Regions from separate parts of the Homo sapiens genome. Here region 2 is linked to region 1. Evidence: promoter capture Hi-C in human tissues and cell types (Jung and others, 2019). All regions are on one chromosome and are shown on one strand. The core of a region is centred on a gene start or on the middle of the fragment in contact, and the rest is flanking DNA. Distances in the headings are between cores, read along the strand shown.

What was found. Contacts are between HindIII fragments. The study calls those that stand out against the background at their distance.
Region 2: a contact is called between a fragment that was not itself captured here and the fragment with the promoter of RPGR in region 1, in 1 of the 25 tissues and cell types used here (IMR-90 fibroblasts).

The regions. Positions count from the first base shown.
Region 1 is chrX:38,325,416-38,330,513 of GRCh38, forward strand. It overlaps RPGR (retinitis pigmentosa GTPase regulator), which reads right to left and starts at 2,094. Exons shown (of 15, transcript NM_001034853.2): 1 at 1,925-2,094. The coding sequence starts at 1,952. It also overlaps a transcript of OTC not described here. RefSeq lists a silencer at 1,783-2,032. The HindIII fragment of the contact is 21,321 bases long and covers 1-5,098 here.
Region 2 is chrX:37,669,066-37,674,120 of GRCh38, forward strand. The region is part of intron 4 of LANCL3 (LanC like family member 3); the gene reads left to right. Among named protein-coding and RNA genes, the nearest start is that of XK, 14 kb to the right of the region's middle. The HindIII fragment of the contact is 7,843 bases long and covers 1-5,055 here.

The DNA of each region.
Region 1 (5,098 bases), core at 844-3,343:
GTTTGTAGTCAAATATAACTTTCAACATTGTTAATATAAAAGACAGGTTACCAAGTCGTCAACAAAGGAGCACTTTAGCTTTTCCTGATTTCTGAGAATTCAGAATGTTTAGGGATCCAGTTATAAAATGAAAAGATCCTCTCAACACAGCTACTCAGGAAGTTTCTAATTCTCATCTTACTCATGCACTATAGTTAGTTATAGAGATGTCTTTTTCTCTTTCCAGAAACAGTACATGGGAAAGGACGGTTTATCTTTCCCCCCAAAACATCATCACAAAATGCCACGGTCCTAGGAGATTGGGAGAGGAGTACATGGGGATGTTGAGATTTTAACATTCTTACATCAAGTCATTACCTGATCTGAGTAGTATTCACAAACTGTTGTGGCACAGCGTCATTTTGAAGAAAGACTAAAAACCCCTACCATTTCCCAATAACCATTTAAACACACACATACACCAAATAGTAGGCCAGGTCCAGCTTTTGGGGAAATCCCAAGGTGGGTGATCACACATAAACTAATTCGTACCAGAAAGGAAAACATAGCGAATATAAGTATTAATAATAAATATTAATACGCAAGAGACTAGCCACTGTGGACAACTTTTTGAGAACCACTGTGAGGCATCTCAGTTCCAACTAATAATTGAGTTGGGAGACTAGGATCTAGAACAGACTCTGAGTTTCCCCAGAATGAATTACTTTAACATTTTAACTGTTTTGTCTTGGCTCCCCTGGCTTCCCTGATACCCTCATCCCAAGCCAAGGTTTGGTGGCTCTGCTCTGGCCCTGTAATATCTACTGTCAATTTATATGGTCATTTTGTTTACTTTCCTGTATGTCTCACTAAATTGTGAACTGCAGGCCAGGAATGTCAGTTCCGGCCAGGAGCATGGAAGAAAACATACATATTTCAGTGAAGGTATGATTCTGCTCAAACCCAGTGTTTTTTCAAAATGGTCGTGACCTATTAGTGGGCCAGAAAATCAATTCAGTGGATCACGATCAGCATTTTAAAAGAATGCATTATCAAAAAGGTGTGTGTGGAATCTAAGTGGATAGAACAAGGACTGCTTCACCAGACATCTATTTCTGTTACACGGTATATATGGAGTATCGGGTCACAATGTCAAAAGTATTTCTAACTATGGAGCTCAGGAAAAAAAAGGCTAAAAAACACTCGCTAAAGGGTCCCTCTTCTCCCTCTTTGTCCAATTTATTTCCTGTATCCCCTTTTACCCCACAGCCCTGATCACTCACTCTTTACTGCATTCAATACATAACCGGGAGCTCAGGACCTCCAAAGTGCACAAGTCTGGAGTCCGCACTTTGGGGAGTTTACAGAAAGTGTCCCTCCCTGGCCGGGCGCGGTGGCTCACGACTGTAATCCCAGCAATTTGGGAGGCCGAGGTGGGCTGATCACCTGAGGTCGGGAGTTCGAGATCAGCCTGACCAACATGGAGGAACCCCGTCTCTACTAAAAATATAAAATTAGCCGGGCGTGGTGGCGCATGCCTGTAATCGCAGCTACTCGGAGGCTAAGGCAGGAGAATCGCCTGAACCCGGGATGCGGAGGTTGCGGTGAGCCGAGATTGCGCCATTGCACTCCAGCCTGGGCAACAAGAGTGAAACTCCGTCTCATAAAAAAAAAAAAAAAGTGTCCCTGCCTTCAAGAAGCTCATCAAGAGCTTATTTAAAAAGCATACGAAAGACAGGCACCCTCTTTCCCGTTCTCCCCCATCCTGTTCTTCCCGTCCGGTCCTCTGCCCTCAGTCATTCGCGGGAGCGCAACCAGCGATCCCGCCCCAGTCCGGCTGCCAAGCCTGGGGCCTGTCCCCCTACAGGGCCGATCCGGAGGCGGGGCCCGGCCGCCCGCGGACCCTCCCTCCCGGCCTTCCGCCACCGGCGCGGGCGCAACTCACCGGGCATCAGCTCTTCCGGCTCCCTCATGCCACGGGCAGTACGGGCAGCCTGCGCCGGGGCCAGGAGGCTGTAGAGGACGGTTTGGTCGGGGCTAAAGCAGCTACTCCGCACCGACGCGGGCCGCGAAAGCCCCCAAGTTCCGCATGGCGAAACTCCGGAGATCAACTACAACCGCGCTCCCGGAAGTCAACAAACAGCCGCTACGGGCAACGGGGGCGGAGCTTGGGAATGCAAGGCGGGACAGGCGCCGTTGGGGAGGGGAACGGAGGCCGGGTGGCTGGTAAGGGGCAGGCTCAGGCACAGCGGAGGGGCAGTAGAGACCACGCGCCCTCTGGCGGCCTGGAGCAGAGAGGCGGCCACGCCGCGCAGTGATGCTGTGGAGTCCGCGCCCTTGTGCCGTTGGAGGTCCAGGCGCCGCAGGGACCCTGCCCATGAGTGGCAAACGTCACAAATCCCATACTCCGTGACATAAGCAAGCATCGACACACAATTATGACACTACTAGTAATAGTGACCAGCTGGAACATTAAAGGAGGTAAGCACTCTGCTAAAGATATCCCCAGCATCTAAACCAACATCTGGCCTATACTGAATGCTCATTACGTATTTATTGGACAAATGAGTACTATTACAACCCTGTAAAGTGGTTAATGTTACCTCTGTTTAAGCATGTGGGCAGCTAGTCCAGCTAGTCCAGCCTGTAGTCAACAAAAGTAAAAGCTGAGGTGTATATGGTCCACTACTCACAGAACATACACAAAGGGGTAGCCCAACATCATTGCTCTAGAATTTGCTCAGCGATGTTATATGATGCAGGGTTTCCCATGCATCAACATTTGGCTATCATGAAATAAAGAAGCAAAAAGCCATCTTCCAGAATGAGCAGATTTACGTACGTTTGGTAGTTGTGGACATGGGCCCTAGAATCAGACACAATTGGATTCAGGGATCCCTGAATTACTCTTGTGTGTTACCAACACTTTCTCAGGAAGTTTGCATTAACATGAAGAGGGGACATTAAACTATTAGTTACACAAATAATCATTTACTTACAAAGCAAAGTGGAGGTTACTAAGGAAGTGGTTAACAAGAAGCGTTGACCTGGTGTAGGAGGTTAAGAAAGGCTTATCTGAAGAAAGAACATTAAATCTAAGAACTGGAGAAAGATAAGCCAGGAGGGGGAGAGAGCTCTTGGCAGAGAGTAAATTGTGTATAAAGGTTTGTAAGGAGCTTGACTCTTTCCAGGAACACCAAGAGGCGAGGCTGGTTCCTAGCGAGGTGGCAAGGTCTTGGGCCTATTAAGGATCTGAGATTTTATCCTAAAGACAATGTGAAACCACTGAGAAGTTTTAGGCAGTAGAACAACAGGACAGGATCAGTTATGTGTGTCCCTGAAATCATTCTGCCTGGTCTAGATGCTTTGTAGAGAATAAACTGGAGCAGTGAGAAGGGTTCAGAGGCTATTGCAGAATTTCAGACATGTGGTCAGGATGGCTTGGAGTACAGTTCATTGGTGCCAGAGAGGAGCAGGCAGATTTGAAAATATTTTAGGTCTTAGAATCAACAGGAAATGGTTTCTGACTATTGACTCCTAGACAGTGCTGGACTACCAAATAGTTCTTAGAGCAACAGCAAAGATAGGGCCCTAAATTATTTTGAAAAGGATTTGATATTCATTTTTAGAGTATCATAATTGTTACTACGGGCAAATGAGAATTTTTAAAGATTTACTTTTTAATATGCAGTCATTTGTTTTTATTTCAAAATACAGTAAGGCACATTTTGGTGCTAAGCATCCCAGAAGATATTGATGCAGCCCTACTCCAAGGTTTCCAACATAAGCAAATAGCAGGAGGGGGGCACCATTTACTGAGATGGGGAACACTGAGGAAAGAGCTGGCGACATTGGAGTTAGGTAAATGGGGCAAGAAGAGCATAATGAGTTCATCCTTGAGCACACTAAGACATCAAATTGGAGGTGCTGAGCAGGTAATTGGTGAGCAGAAGCCCCAGAAGGAGGCACGTATTTGAGGAATGACTGGGTCTATATAGTGAAAGCAGGCTTGAGATACTTGCAACACTGGAAAGTGACTGTAGAATTGAGGCAGTAGAATAGGGTCGGGAGGCAGGAAAGCTAAGGCCAATTCATGCTGACTTCCTAGAACTAAATCAAAAGGAAACCCCAACTTTCCATACCTAAGTAACAAAAGAACCAGAGGCTACTCCCTTTGCAACCCCCACCCCCTTTTTCTGCGTGGCAGACGGAAAATTGAAAGTATCTCTGATTAGTTGCTTTTTGCAACCAATCAGACATTTGCATGGGAGTGTAACTTTGTAACTTCACTTTAGCCTCTGATTGGTTGCTTTCCACAACCAATCAGATGTTTGAATAGGGTGTAACCTTTGTAAGTACACTTCAGCCTCTGATTGGTTGCAAGGCCACTAGTTCATTTACATAGTAACCAATGGGAAATATACCAATGGTTACTTGGGAATGGCACCAAGTAACCAGTGGGAAACCTCTAGAGGGTAATAAAATCCCAGAAAATTCTGTAAAGGGGCTCTTGAGCCCCTGTGCTAGGGCCTGCTCCCACCCTGTACTTTAGTTTTCAATAATGCCATCATCTCCGGCATCTGTGAGTCTATTGCTTTACATGGCAAAAGGGACTTTGCAGTTGTGAGATGCTGGATTCAGGACCTTGAGATGGAGAAATTATTCTAGATTAACCAGGTAAGCCCAATTAAATCCTATGAAATCTTAAAAGTGAAGAGCCTTTCCAGGCTGTGGTCACAAAAAGATGTGAAGATGCAGGAGTGGTCAGAGAGATACAACAGCGCTGGCTGTGAAGATGAAGGTAAGGGCCATGAGCGGAGGAATGCAAGCAGCCTCTGAAAGCCGGGAAAGGCAAGGAAGTGGATGCTCCCCAAGAGTCTCCAGAAGGGAATGCAACTCTACTGACACCTTGATTTTAGTCCAGTGAGACCCGTTTCACACTTCAGAACTACAATAGTGTACGATAATAAATGGGTATTGTTTAAGCCACCACCAAGTTGATGGTAATTTGTGACAACAGCAAGAGAAAACTAGCACACCATAGTTGATCTCATCAAATCTTCACAGGAACCCTAAATGAAGTACTAACTTCAGTCTCATTTTTGGGAAGAAGAATCTG
Region 2 (5,055 bases), core at 1,169-3,668, 660 kb before region 1:
TTATAATTCCAGACTTTTCTTTATGTGTAAATGTATGTTCACATAAATGTATATGTGTACATGTATATTTTAATGAGCTCCTACTACTATATATGTATAATAGTTCTATACATACTGTTTGTAGCTTATAATTTTATTTATTTATTTATTTATTTGAGACAGGGTCTCACTCAGGCTGGAGTGCAGTGGTGTGATTTATGGCTCACTGTAGCCTGCAACTCGTGGGCACAGCTCAGCCTCCTGAGTAGCTAGGGCTACAGGTTCATGCCACCATATGTGGCTGATATGGTTTGGATCTGTGTCCCTACCAAATCTCATGTCGAATTGTAATCCCCAGTGTTGGAGGTGGGGCCAAGTAGGAGGTGATTGGATCCTGGGGACAGAGTTCTCATGAATGGTTTGGCACCATCCCCTCTTGGTACTGTATAGTGATAGAGTTCTCAAGAGATCTTGTTGTTTAAAAGTGCATAGCACTTCCCCCTCCCCTCTTGCTCCTGCTCTGGCCATGTAAGATGTGTCTGCTTCTCCTTCACTTCCTACCATGATTGGAAGCTTCCTGAGGCCTCCCCAGAAGCAGAAGCTGCTATGATTCCTGTACAGCCTGCAGAACTATGAGCCAATTAAACCTCTTTTCTTTGTGAATTACCCAGTCTCAGGTATTTCTTTATAGCAGTGCAAGAATGGACTAAAACAACAACTATTAATTTTTTGTATGCAGAAACAGGATCTTGCTATGTTGCCCAGGCTGGCATTGAACACCTGGCCTGAAGCTATCCTCCTGCCTTGGCCTTCCAAAGTGCTGGGATTACAGGTGTGAGCCCACCACCTCCCCGCTATGTTTGCAGCTTATAATTTTAAATGAACAATTTTTAAGGGACATTCTTTATTTCATTTTGTATGAATCTATCTCATTTTTTAAAATGGCTATATAGTTATTCACTATGCATGTATGATAATTAACCAATCCTTAAATAATGGACACTTGACATTTGTGTAATCTTTAATAACACAAAATTTCCCCAAATATCCAATACATACATTTCTGTGCACTTGTGAAAGCACTTGTCAGAAATTTTAGAATTGAAGTCATTAGATCCATAGGTATTTCTTGGTCTATAAATAGCCTGTCTTTATCCTTTGCCCATTTTTTTCCTGTTGTGATGCTTCTATTCAGAATTGTAACTCTTTGTCAATGTATGCTGTAAATACCTTCCTGCTTTGCCATTTCTCTTTTAATTTTGTTTGTAGCCTTTGTCATACCAAAGTTTTAAGTATTTTTCTTGTCAAAGTTTTCAATCTTTTCTTTAAAATTTCTAGATTTTCTGTTATGCTTAAAAAGACCCTTCCCACTTCAGGATTAGAAAACTATTAATTTACATGGGCTTGTAATAATTTTATGATTTTAACATTAAAATTTTTGATTCTGCTAGAAATTACTTTTTAAATGGTCTCAGATAGGTATTTATTTTTGTTTATTAAAAAAAATTCTAATAGCATCTGTTGACCAGTTACCCCCATGATTTGAAATTCCATTTTTTTATAAACTGAATTTATATAAATATATGAGTTCCATATTTTCCCCATATTCCACCTATCATTCTCTTATTTATTCTTTTAATTGTATTTTAGAGTCAATTTGTCATATTTTTAAAAAAGCTCACAGAAATTTGATTGGAATTTCATTGAATTTACAGTTTGCTTAATGAGAATCAGCATCTTTAGAATATTGAATTTTTCCATCCAGAAACATGGTATACCTTTCCATTTATTTAAGTTTAAACAAATGTCATTGGTAAAGTTTTGATCTTATGAAGAAGATCTTGTATGTTTTTTGTTAATTTTATTCCTGGGTATTTTATGTTTCTAGGTTTATTGTGAGTGGACTCTTTTCCTTCATTATATTTTCATATCATTTATTACTGGTATTTATGGAAGCTTTTAAAACACACATCACTGAAGTTTATCAATTCTAATATGTAATTTTTCATATAAATATAGATTGTATCTTATAAGTATTTTTCTTTTCATAAACATCATAATAATATAGCTGCCTTAATGAACTCCATTACTGTTTCTATTAGTTTTTTATTGATTCTATTGGGTTTTCTAAATAGATACACACATATCTGCAAATAACTATGATTCTGTTACTTCCTTTCTCATGTGCATGGTATTTTTTTTCCACTACATGGTTCTTCTCTATAACAATGCAACCCTATAACAATGTTCAATAATAAGAGGGATAGTAAACACCCTTGCTTTTATGCTGATTTTACTAGGAATGCTCCTATGTTTTACCGTGGTCTTTTATATTCACTTCTTATAATGTTTATCATTATAAACATTAGATTATAAGTGTTAGATTATAACACTTCTCTGTTCAGTGTAATCCAACGGCTTCCCATATGATTCAGAGTAAAAGCCAGTCTTTCCTACGAATGAAAGGTCCTACATGATCTAGCCTCCCATTACCTCTCTAATCTCATTCCCTACTCTTCTTCCTCCTGGTTCTGTCTACCACTGTGGCTTCCTTGTAATTCCATTAGGATGCCAGGTACACTCCACCTCAAGACCTTGGAAGTTTTGGTTCCCTCCACCTGTAATGCTCACTTTCTACGTATATCTCCTAGCTCCCCCATTTCAGTCAGACTTTCACTCAAAAGTCATTTTCTCAGAAAGGCCCTCCCAAGTCAACTTATCTAATATTTAATGTTTAGAAAACATAAATTATTTTTTGTGATATTTACATGAATGCACTGAAGGGCAAATACTAACTTATGTAAGTCTTTGATTTGAAGCTCTGTTGTTTAGGAAATCTGTTAATATAATTGATTCATGGTTTCTTAATCTCTTTAGGTGGAAGCCAGACCTGTTGTTTCCCAAATATAGAAAAAGAAAGTAATTTTGGATATCATCTAGGCTAGTGGGATTTCACCTTTGGGCTAAATTTCATCAGAAATGAATGAAATTCATTTATTCCCTATAAAGCGTATTAAAAGGGATCAGAACAACCCCTCTATTTTCTTTTTTGTAATTTTTAATATTTTAATTTTTTAAAATTTGTGTAAATGTATGGGATTCAAGTTTAATTTTGTTATTTGGATAGATTACATAGTGGTGAATTCAGGGCTTTAGGGTATCCATCACTCAATGAACTTTGTACCCATTAAGTATTTTCTGGCAGGCCAGTCCTAGCTTACAGAGTCTTGGTTATAAGATTTAGGGTCCAGGTCTCTTTAGACAACTTACATTTCTCACTAACAGGTAGAAGACTGGAAATGTGGAGGTAATATCTGAGTATTGTTTGGGCATTGTGTGAACAAAAGTTCTCTGAAACGGAATGTGTAGGAAAGACACTATTCCAGTGAACAGTTTGCAAACAGAGGATACACGGCCTGCGGTGTAAAATGAAGCAGCCTTTCAGCGCTGGGTTTTATAGCAAAGTTGCCTGCCCAGGGTCAGGTCTTTTTATGCAAATGAAGGATTGAATCTCAGTTCCGATTGGTCAGTGCAGCTGAGCCCTGATTGGCCATGGCAGGTGACTCTGATTGTTTGGCTTAGGTGTGATCTGATTAGTTACTTTCCAAGCTCAAAACCAGAAGTCTTTGTCACCTGTTTCTTCCAAATGGCGGGTGGAGGGCTGGCATATCTTGGCACTCACAACGGGAACTGGTTTGGAGAAAGGTCCTGTGATGCTTTTACAACGTCTTTCTCAGAACACAGAGTACATGATCACTCCCTCACCCAGCCATAGCTGCCTGGTTCTGTTTTAACTTGGAGCACCTCAGTTTGCCATGGGGAGCCCATTTTGTCTGTTGGCTAGGGGCATACTTTAACAATTGCATGTTAAAAAATATGTACCTCCCTAAAATGAATATTACTTGGTTGTCACCTATTATTTTTTAACATACAGTTGGATTTTATGGCTGCATAAAAATATTTGACAACTTCTTAATTTTCTTTTATGTTTATTCAATCACTCGGGTTTTCTACCTCTTCTTTTTGGTAGTGCACATATTTCTATAAGACCATCTAGTTCTTATGAATTTTCAAATATTTGACATAGAGTTCTAATCATATAGTTCCATAATATTTTTAATTTCCTATATCTGTGGCTATGTGCCCTTTGTGATTTCTAATGCTTTTCCTTCCTGGTGAGCTGCACCAGTGTTTTTTCTGTCTTGTTAATCCTTTGAAGGAACTGGCTCCTGGTTTTGCTTATTAATTTTTTTTGTTTTTCTCTTTTGTTTTCCACTTTTACTTCCTTTTATTTTGTTATGTTCTAGAGTTTATACATGCTGAATTAGAAAGCATTCCATCATTTTATTAATAATAATGGTAACTCACAGATCTATGAATTTTCTTCTGCATTCAGTTTTGGTCATAATCAATGGGTTTTGATATGAAATGTTTTCATATTTTATTGTGTCTTCTATTCTTTTTAGTCCTGTAATTAGCATGCTGACTTCTATTTTGACTGAGAACGTTTTAGAAAAAAAAATTTGTTTAATTTTGCACCACTGGATAGATTTTTGAAACATTTTTCACAAATAATAACACAAAATACAGGTCAGAATACAATGAAACTGCTACCCTCAGACATTGCTGGTACTATTTTAAGTTGCTATGTATCATTTAGAAATTATTTTGAAAAGCATAGAAAAATATTTAGCATATTTTTAAGTGAAAAAAATACAGGATACCAAATCATATATACTTTAATAACATGTAATAATGCAACAAATAAATGAGTGCATGGGGGAAAGGTCAGAAGAAGAGCTAGCAACATTGTGGGTTTCTTTTATACTATGATTTTACAAATCATCTTTTTGTTTTATAAATCTTCTTTTATTATATGTTTATGTAAAAAGTAATATTTTCTATTTATTGAATGCTTGCTATATTCTCAGAACCTGATATATAATACCCTTTATCTTTACATATAACACTATCCAGTTCTGCAACTTCACCATTTTAAAGTCAAATTGAGAAATTTGCCAAAGGTCATACAACATGAAATTATGGAATCTGTGTATCTCACTTCCAAAGCCCTTG